3 separate regions of the Homo sapiens genome follow, and all the other regions are linked to region 1. Evidence: promoter capture Hi-C in human tissues and cell types (Jung and others, 2019). All regions are on one chromosome and are shown on one strand. Each heading gives the region's core, a stretch centred on a gene start or on the middle of the fragment in contact. The rest is flanking DNA. Distances are from core to core; before and after follow the strand shown.

The links. The method cuts DNA at HindIII sites, captures the fragments that hold promoters and counts their contacts. A contact is called where the count stands out against the background at its distance.
Region 2: a fragment that was not itself captured here is called in contact with the fragment with the promoter of DENND5A in region 1 in 1 of the 25 tissues and cell types used here (hippocampus).
Region 3: a contact is called between a fragment that was not itself captured here and the fragment with the promoter of DENND5A in region 1, in 2 of the 25 tissues and cell types used here (IMR-90 fibroblasts and hippocampus).

Annotation. Positions count from the first base shown.
Region 1 is chr11:9,263,633-9,266,759 of GRCh38, forward strand. DENND5A (DENN domain containing 5A) reads right to left here and starts at 1,718. Exons shown (of 23, transcript NM_015213.4): 1 at 1,329-1,718. The coding sequence starts at 1,437. RefSeq lists enhancers at 250-589, 750-869, 1,950-2,019 and silencers at 1,160-1,519, 1,570-1,669. The HindIII fragment of the contact is 15,544 bases long and covers 1-3,127 here.
Region 2 is chr11:9,061,342-9,064,468 of GRCh38, forward strand. All of the region lies in intron 7 of SCUBE2 (signal peptide, CUB domain and EGF like domain containing 2), which reads right to left. All of the region lies in intron 2 of NRIP3-DT (NRIP3 divergent transcript), which reads left to right. Among named protein-coding and RNA genes, the nearest start is that of MIR5691, 27 kb to the right of the region's middle. The HindIII fragment of the contact is 3,919 bases long and covers 1-3,127 here.
Region 3 is chr11:9,126,033-9,129,159 of GRCh38, forward strand. No RefSeq gene overlaps it. Among named protein-coding and RNA genes, the nearest start is that of SCUBE2, 36 kb to the left of the region's middle. The HindIII fragment of the contact is 6,465 bases long and covers 1-3,127 here.

The sequences.
Region 1 (3,127 bases), core at 468-2,967:
GAGATCGAGACCATCCTGGCTAACAAGGTGAAACCCCGTCTCTACTAAAAATACAAAAAATTAGCCGGGCGCGGTGGCGGGCGCCTGTAGTCCCAGCTACTCGGGAGGCTGAGGCAGGAGAATGGCGTGAACCCGGGAAGCGGAGCTTGCAGTGAGCCGAGATTGCGCCACTGCAGTCCGCAGTCCGGCCTGGGCGACAGAGCGAGACTCCGTCTCAAAAAAAAAAAAAAAAAAAAAAAGAAACACTGGACTTTTTCTGGTGCCCAAAAACAAAACTGTCTTGTCATCGTTGAAGCCGAGTAAGATTAGTCAACAGGATAATCACTTTCGAAAGAGAAACTTTACAGTGACAGAAAAGTGAAAAGGAGTCCCCCTCATCAGGATGACACAACCTTAAAGTACAACCCGACAAACCTCCACCCACTTGAAACCCACTAACTGGAAACTCCAGACAAAAACTTATTTTCAAAACTGTTACAATTCAAAGACTCCAATGACAGTGCAGTGGAAAATTCACGGGGACTGTATAATTTTCACGGCCTTCTGCAGTGAGTGCCAAATCTGGTCAGGGCCCCATCTTTGACTCCCCTCATCACTTTCCCTTTCAAATATGACTTGAAACGCATCAGAACACACCAAGCCTCTCCAACTACAATGCTGCTACCCTTTTATTCACAAACGCCTCTGTCCTCATAAAGGACATAAATTACTTTTCAAAAAAGGCATGGCCCCGGGATACAAGCCCTTTCCAAGGCTAAGGGAGTTCCTACTCTTCTTGGTGCCGCCCAAGTTCACTTTATTACTTCATATCCCATCCAGACGCGCAGAGCTGCAATCTGACTCAGGGGGCCCAGCCCAGGGCTGGGGTATAACGGTTTTGAGGAACTAGTATCACAAGCTTCTTGGGAAGTGGCCAGATAAACTCACCAAGTTTTTGTTTTCCTTTTTTTTAAGTCTGGGTGGAACTTACTTTCACTAGGACGTGGGACGCCTTCCCTCCCTAATGGGTGCCAGAGGACAAGCTTTCCTTTATTTTAAACGAAGTCACTCAACCTACACCAAACTGAGAACACACAACCCTCCCTCTTTCTGGTCGCCGAAGACGTGGCCACTGCGCAGCGGGCCGTAGGTTTGGACCCCTCATGGCTCAGAGCCCCTCATCCGTTTCCCCCCTCCAGTCCAAAGCCCCCTTCGCCCGCGCCCGCCCTGGTCCTCCCGGCCGACACTCGCCCGGCTCCCGGGACAAAGCGGGGCTGAAGGAAGGTTTCTTCTGGGGTCCCCGACGACAGCGGGCGCGGGAAAGCGCCCCGGGCTCGGCGCGCACTCACCCGACAGCTCGTCCGGCTCCAGCCCGGTCTCCGTGTCCAGTCCGCAGATGACAAAGTAGTCGGCGAAGCGACTGGGCGCCGAGCCCCCTCCGCCGCCGCCGCCACTCATGGCGCCGGGGCCGAGACCGGCCGGGCAGTGCGGAGCGGCACCGAGCCCCCGCAACCCGGGCGCCCGCCCGTCCGCCCTCAGGCCGCCCCTCCCGCCGCCGCCGCTACCGCGGCTCGGGCCGCCGCCCCCGGCCCTGGCCCGGTCCCCTCGGCCGCCGCGGCTGCCGTGACGGGGCGGGGGGGCACCGGGCCGCCCCGCACCGCATCCTGGATGCCTTCCCCTCCGCGCCGCCGCCGCTGCAGCTAGCCGAGAGCGCCGCGGCCCGAGCGAGCCTGGAGAAGGGCGGAGAGCGCGTGGACAGCCCCCACCGTGACCCTCCTCCTACCGCGCCTGCGCAGGCGCCGTCTGGGAGGGGGCGGGCTCCTGGGGGAAAGGATGACGTGATGCTCTTCGGACCCCGCCGGCCGCAGCTTCCCGGGAGGTCGCCGCAGCGCAGCCGGTGACTGCTTGGTCGCCCGCAACTGCCACTCCCCCGGGATTGAGACTCCTTTAGGGAGGGCTGAGGAGGTGCGAGAAGAGTGGGCGCAGCCTGCAGAGCCGGGCATTTGGCCCATGCTCTGCCCCCAACCACCCACCCAGCAAGCAGAGGTCCAGAGATCTTAGCGCGGCCTTGCCATGAGGATGGGGTCTCACGACTGAGCTCGGAAGCTCACCTAATCCTAGCTGCAGCGTGTCAGCCTAGACCCCAGACAGGGCCTTCTCCCTGTCCTCTCTTTTGGCAGGGGCGGATGAGCCGGTTTTATATTTACCCTTATTTTACAGACGGGGAAACTGAGTCTCAGAAAGAAGCAAGGACTTATCCAAGGTTACGCTGAGTCTAAGAGACATAAGCCTGGTCTGGAATCCTGGGCTTGTGGTCAGCTCCCCGTTCCTCGCCGCTCCCACCTCCCAGCCTGCCCTTTTCCCACGCTCTCTCCTTTTTTCTCTGGAAGCCTCCAGAGGCGCCTGCCATTTGGGAGCTCCTCTTCCTCTTCACTCTGTGAAAACTCTCAGATCCACCCCTAAACCTGTTTTCCTGTAAGAGGATAGGGAGGAGGCGAAGGGAAACTTACCTATTGGTCCTTGTCCTAGGACCCTCCGATTTCCTTTCCCATAGAAGCTAGGCAGATGTGTCTTTGTTGGAAACTGGAGATCAGAGGCCAGAAAGGCAACACAGGTATAGTGGTCACTAGCATGGGCTCTAGAAAAAAATGCTCGGATTTCAATCCTGACGATCATTTACTTTTGACCTTGAGCAAGTTAATCTCTAAGTGCCTGGCGTCATGGTTTTTGAGACAATTACATAAGGTAAATGCAAGTACAGGTAAAACAATGAGAATACTGCCTGGAACATGGAAATCACTCAGTAAATATTACAGATTTTTTTTTTCAAGACGGAGTTCTGTCTTGTTGCCCAGGCTGGAGTGCAATGGCGTAATCTCGGCTCACTGCACCTCTGCCTCCCAGGTTCAAGTGATTCTCCTGCCTCAGCCACCCAAGTAGCTAGGATTACAGGCGCGCACCACCACACTCGGCTAATTTTTTGTATTCAGTAGAGACAGGGATTCACCGTGTTGGTCAGGCTGGTCTCGAACTCCTGACCTCAGGTGATCCGCCCTCCTCTGCCTCCTAAAGTGCTGGGATTACAGGCATGAGCCAATGAGCCCCCAGCCTGGATTATTATTATTGTTCCAGAAGGAAGTACTCTTAC
Region 2 (3,127 bases), core at 287-2,786, 200 kb before region 1:
AGCCCAGGGGTTCAAGACCAGCCTGGGCCACGTGGTGAGACCCCCATCTCTACACAAATTTTAAAAAATTAGCGAGGCCTGGTGACGCACACCTGTGGTCCCAGCTACTCGGGAGGCTGAAGCAGGAAGATCACTTGAGCCCAGGAGGTCAAGGGTGCAGTGAGCCATGTTTGTGCCACTGCACTCCAGCCTGAGCAATACAGCGAGACCCTGTCTCAAGAAAAGAAAAGAAAAAAAAAAAAAAAGAAGGAACCCTAAAGGGAACAAGCTTAATCCTAATTAAATATGCAGATAGTACATGTATGTTTATCTCTGTTCCTTTCAAAACCTCACGAATATGAGAATCAATTGATTTTTTAAAGTATAAATCCTTAAGGACAAAGAAAATAGGAGAAAAGACAATAGATAAAAGATGTCAAACATTCTGGAAGTGACATGTTAGCAGGAGAGCAGTATCTGGCGTAGAAGAAAGCTAGATCCTAGCAGTCTGCAGAGGGGGTGCCAACAGCTGGTAAACTCCTGTGAGCCCCAGAGTCCCAGAAAGACTCAGGAATTGGAGGTATCAAGTTATTCTAGAGGCAGAAATGAGGACGGAGTTAAGAACAGGAAGATTATGGAGAGTCTACATATGAAAGAGATAAACCCCAGAGCTCCTCCTTAACTCCACATAGTCATGTGACTACCCTTCTCCTATTCTGGCTATAGCAGAGAAGTCTGGACCAGAGAGGTACCAGGCTCAAGGGCACCAGGAATAGCAGAGGAGGAGAGGGTGTCACCATCAGGTGAAAGTCTATACCCTGAAAAAGAGATCTCTAACCCTCATCCCTCTTCCCCCAACTCCTTCAGCTCCCTACTGGCAGATTTAAAGCCATTGAAAATTCCAAAAGCTATGTTAAAATAACAGCCATTGAAAGTTCCAAAAAGCTATGTTGAAACAACACTGCAACCCAGGATGCTAGCAGCCAAGCCTACAGGCAGGTGGTTGAAGGACTCCTCTCCGGCTAAATTGACCTGCCCAAGCAAAAAGACCTAACGATATTAGCATTCGAGGATCTCCAGATGAAATGGCTATGTCACTGCCTCGTCACCCAAACATGAAGCCCACAAATCAATAGAATATCCAATTGGCTTTTTAGTATTTTACTGTTAAATATGAAAAGTCGGTCAAGAATCACTAGACATTTCTGGAAAGCCTCTAATACGGAATGAATATACCAGATCAAACCAACGGGGAAAAAGAAACCTGGAGGAAACAAAGATAATCTAGAGAACAGAAGAGGAGTTAAAATCTCGTAATTAATTTCCTCAGGGGGACAAGAAAAGCATCCATGAAATAAGAGCAGGTTCCTAAAACCAAAGGCCAAAGTAAAATGCCTGAAAAATTAAAACATGAAAACGAAAACTTTATCCTGTGCAAAGATTAGAAGAAAAAAATGAAAACTCTCCTAGAAAGTAGAACAAAAATACAAAGGAGAGAAAAGAAAAAGAATAAAAATACAAGGGAGAGAAAAGAAAAAAAAAAAAATTAGGGGGTCAATCCAGGAGTTACCACAGCCAGCTAACAGGAGTTCCGGAGGGAAAGAACAGAGAAAATGGAGTGAAGAAATTTATCAAAGAAGACGGGTGCGGTGGCTCATGCCTGTAATCCCAGCACTTTGAGAGGACGAGACAGGTGGGTCACATAGGCCAGGAGGTTGAGACCAGCCTGGCCAACATAGCAAAATCCCTTTTCTACTAAAAATACAAAAAAAAAAATTAGCCAGGCATGGTGGCATGTGCCTGTAGTCTCAGCTACTGGGGAGGCTGAGGCAGGAAAGTCACTTGAACCTGGGAGGTGGAGGTTGTAGTGAACCAAGATTGCACCACTGGACTCCAGCCTGGGCGACAGAACAAGACTCTGTCTCAAAAAAAAGAAAGAAAAAGAAATTTATCAAAGAAAAGAATGTAAGAAAATTTCTCAGAACAAAGGGACTTGAATGTTCATATTGAAAAGTACTAAAAATAGGTGGGCAAAATCCCACAATAAGGAACATTATTGTAAAACTTCAGATCACTGGGAAGGAGGAGAAGATCCTGGAAGCTTTCAGAGAGAAGCTTTCACAGGTTTCACACAAAGGATCAAGAATAAAAATGATTTTAGACTTCTCAAAACAACTCTGCATTCTTGAAAACAATGGAGCACTAACTTCAAAACAGTGATGGAAAATTCTTTCCAACTCTGAATTCTACACTGAGCCAAATTCTCAATAAAGGGTGCAGGTAGAATATAAAGGCATTTTCAGGCATGCAAATTTTTAAATACCTCTATCTCATTCGCCGGATAAACTAATGAGAGACAAGACATAGGATCCACCCAACAGGAGAGCGGCAAAGGGAATTGTAGGCTGATGGTGAATGCCCAGATGAGAGACATGCACTCAGCCAAGACAGCCAGGCCCTGCTAGGGCAGGCTGGAAGCCTCCGAGGAAACTTTTTCACCAAGAAAATTGATTTGATTAGTTACCTACACTATATTTGAACACATTGAAAAGTATTTTACAGCTTTGTCTGAAATTTGCAAAAGAATTGGTAAGAGGTACTTAGAAAACTAAGCAAACAAAGAAAATATAATCATAGCACGTTACATGACTCAGGTGAATCGTATTTAGATATTCAAAGTCAGAATAATGTAAGCACATAATATTGATTTAAATTGTGAGACAACAATATTAAGGGTATAGGGAGAGGTCAGGTGTGTGTGTGTGTGTATTGCGGGGGGAAGCAGTGAGAGCTAAATCCTAGTCTTTCATAATAGGAAGTTAAAAGCTACCATCTAAAACAGACACATCAAGAAGTAACTGTAGGGCCAGGCATGAAGGCTCACACGTGTAATCCAAACACTTTGGGAGGCCAAGGTAGGCAGATCGCTAGAGCCCAGGAGTTCGAGACCAGCCTGGGCAACAGGGCAAAACCCTGTCTCTACAAAAAATACAAATATTAGCCAGGCGCAGTGGCACATGCCTGTAGTCCAGCTACTCAGGAAGCTGAGGTGAGAGAATCGCTTGAGCCTGGGAGGCGGAGGTTGCAGTGAGATATGATCACACCACAGCACCCCAGCCTGGGGGCAACAGAGTGAGACTCTGTCTTA
Region 3 (3,127 bases), core at 216-2,715, 140 kb before region 1:
GAAATTCCAGACTAGCCTGGCCAACATGGTGAAACCCTGTCTCTACTAAAAATATGAAAATTAGCTGGGCATGGTGGCGCATGCCTGTAATCCCAGCTACTGGGGAGGCTGAGGCATGAGAATCGCTTGAACTTGGGAGGTGGAGGTTGCAGTGAGCTGAGATCGTGCCACTTCACTCCAGCCTGGGTGATAGGGTGAGACTCTGTCTCAAAATAATAATAATGATAATAATAATTCACATACCATAGAATTAACCAATTTAAAGTATACAATTCAATGGTTTTTATTATATTTACAGAGTTGTGCAAACCATCACCATAGCTGTCTTTGGAACATTTTTATCAGCCCAAAAAGAAATCCCATATTTACTGTAGTTACTCTTCATTTGTTCCCCAGCCCAACACAACCCTATTCTCTTTCTGCCTCTACAGATTTGCCTCTTCTGAATATTTTGCATAAGTGGAATCATACAATATATGGTCTTTTCAAGGGTAATCCACGTTGCAGAATGTATTGGTACTTTAATTCTTTATCTGGCCGAATAACATCTCATTTTGTTAATCCATTCATCAGTTGATAGACATTTGTGTTGTTCCTACCTTTTGACTATTATGAATAATGCTGCTATGAACTTTCATGTACAAGCATTTGTGTAAACATGTGTTTTCATTTCCTGTGGGCTGATTCCTAGAACTGCTGAGTTATAAACTAACTTTTATGTTCAACCTTTTGAGGAACTGCCAGACTATTTTCCAAAGTGGCTGCACTCGTTTACATTTCCACTAGCAATGTATGAGAATTCCTGTTTCTCCACATTCTTACCAACACTTATATCTGTTTTTCTGCTTATAGCCATTCTAGTGGGTATAAAGTGGTATCTCATCGTGGCTTTGATTTACATTTCCCTGGTGGCTAACAATGTTAAGCATCTTTTCACATGCTTATTGGTCATTTGTACATTTTCTTTGAAGAAATGTCTCTTCAGATTCTTTGCCCATTCTTAAATTGCGTTGTCCTCTTATTACTGCGTTCTTTATGTTTTTTGGATACTGGTCCCTTGTCAGATATATGAGTTACACATATTTTGTCTCATTCTATAGGTTGTATTTTCACTTTCTTGAACAGTGTTCCTTGAAACATAAAGTTTTAAAATTTATGGAAGTCTAGTTTTGTTTGTTGCTCATGCTTTTTTTTGTGTGTGTAGAGCCAACTGATCTTAGACAAAGCAAACAAAAACAAAAAGCGGGGGACACCCTTTTCAACTAATGGTGCTGGGATAATTGGCTAGCCACATATAGAAGTATGAAACTGGATCCTCATCTCTCACCTTATATAAAAATAAACTCAAGATGGATTAAGGACTTAAATCTAAGACATGAAACTATAAAAATTCTAGAAGATAACATTGGAAAAACCCTTCTAGACATTGGCTGAGGCAAGGATTTCATGACCAAGAACCCAAAAGCAAATACAATAAAAACAAAGATAAATAGCTCAGACTTAAACTAAAGAGCTTTTGCATGGCAAAAGGAACAGTCAACAGAGTAAACAACCCACAGAGTAGGAGAAAATCTTCACAATCTATTCATCTGACAAAGCACTAATATCCACAAACTACAATGAACTCAAACAAATCACCAAGAAAAAAATAAACAATCCCATCAAAAAGTGGGCTAAGGACATGAATAGACAATTCTTAAAAGAAGATATACAAATAGCCAACAAATATATGAAAAAAACACTCAACATCACTAATTATCAGGGAAATGCAAATCCAAACCACAATGTGATACCACCTTACTTCTCCAAGAATGGCCATAATCAAAAACAGTAGATGTTGGCGTGAATGCAGTGATCAAGGAACACTTCTACACAGCTGCTGGGAATGTAAACTAGTACAACCACTATGGAAAACAGTGTGGAGATTCCTTAAAAAACTTACTACTAGGTTTCTACCCAGAAGAAAAGAAGTCATTGTACGAAAAAGATACTTGCACATGCACGTTTATGGCAGTACAATTCACAATGGCAAAATTGTGGAACCAAGTCAAATGCCCATCAATCAATGAGTGGATAAAGAAACTGTGGTATGTATACATGATGGAACACTACTCAGCCATATAAAGGAATGAATTAATGGCATTTGCAGTGACCTGGATGAGACTGAAGACTATTATTCTAAGTGAAGTAACTCAGGAATGGAAAACCAAACATCATATGTTCTCACTGATATGTTGGGATTAAGCTATGAGGATGCAAAGGCGTCGGAATGATACAATGGACTTTGGAGACTTGTGGGGAAGGAGGGGGCACCAAAATCTCACAAATCACCACTAAAGAACTTACTCATGTAACCAAACACCACCTGTACACCAATAACCTATGGAAAAATAAAACATAAATAAAAATAAAATAAACATAAATTTATAGAAGTCCAATTTTGTTTGTTGCTTTTTTTTTTTTTTTTTTTTTTTCGTAGAGACAGGGTTTCACTATGTTGGCAAGGCTGGTCTCAAACTCCTGGCCTCAAGTGATCCACCCACCTCAGCCTCCCAAAATGCTGGGATTACAGGTGTGAGCCACTGGGCCTGGCCTAATTTGTTATTTTTTTGTAGAGATTGGGGTCTCACCATATTTACCAGGCTGGTCTTGAACTCCTGACCTCAAGCAATCCTCCTGCTTTGGCCTCCCAAAGTACTGGGATTACAGGTATGAGCCACTGTGCCCAGCTTGTTGCTTGTGCTTTGAATGTAATAGCTAAGAAACCATTGCCTAATCTAAGGTCATAAAGATGTATGCCTATATATAGCTTTAGCTCTTACATTTAGATCATCAATCCATTTTGAGTTAATTTTTGTATGTAATGTGAAGTAAGGTCCAACCTTATTCTTTTGCATGTGGATATCCAGTTGTCCTGGCATCATTTGTTGAAAAGACTATTATTTCTCTCATTGAATTGTCTTGGCACCCTTGCCAAAAGTTATTTGACCATAAATGTGAGGATTTATTTATGTGCTCAATTCTATTCCATTGATCTATATGTCTATCCTTATGCCAATACTGTACCATCTTGATTACTGTAGTAAGCTTTGAAATAGGTAAATACAAATCTTCCAACTTTGTTCTT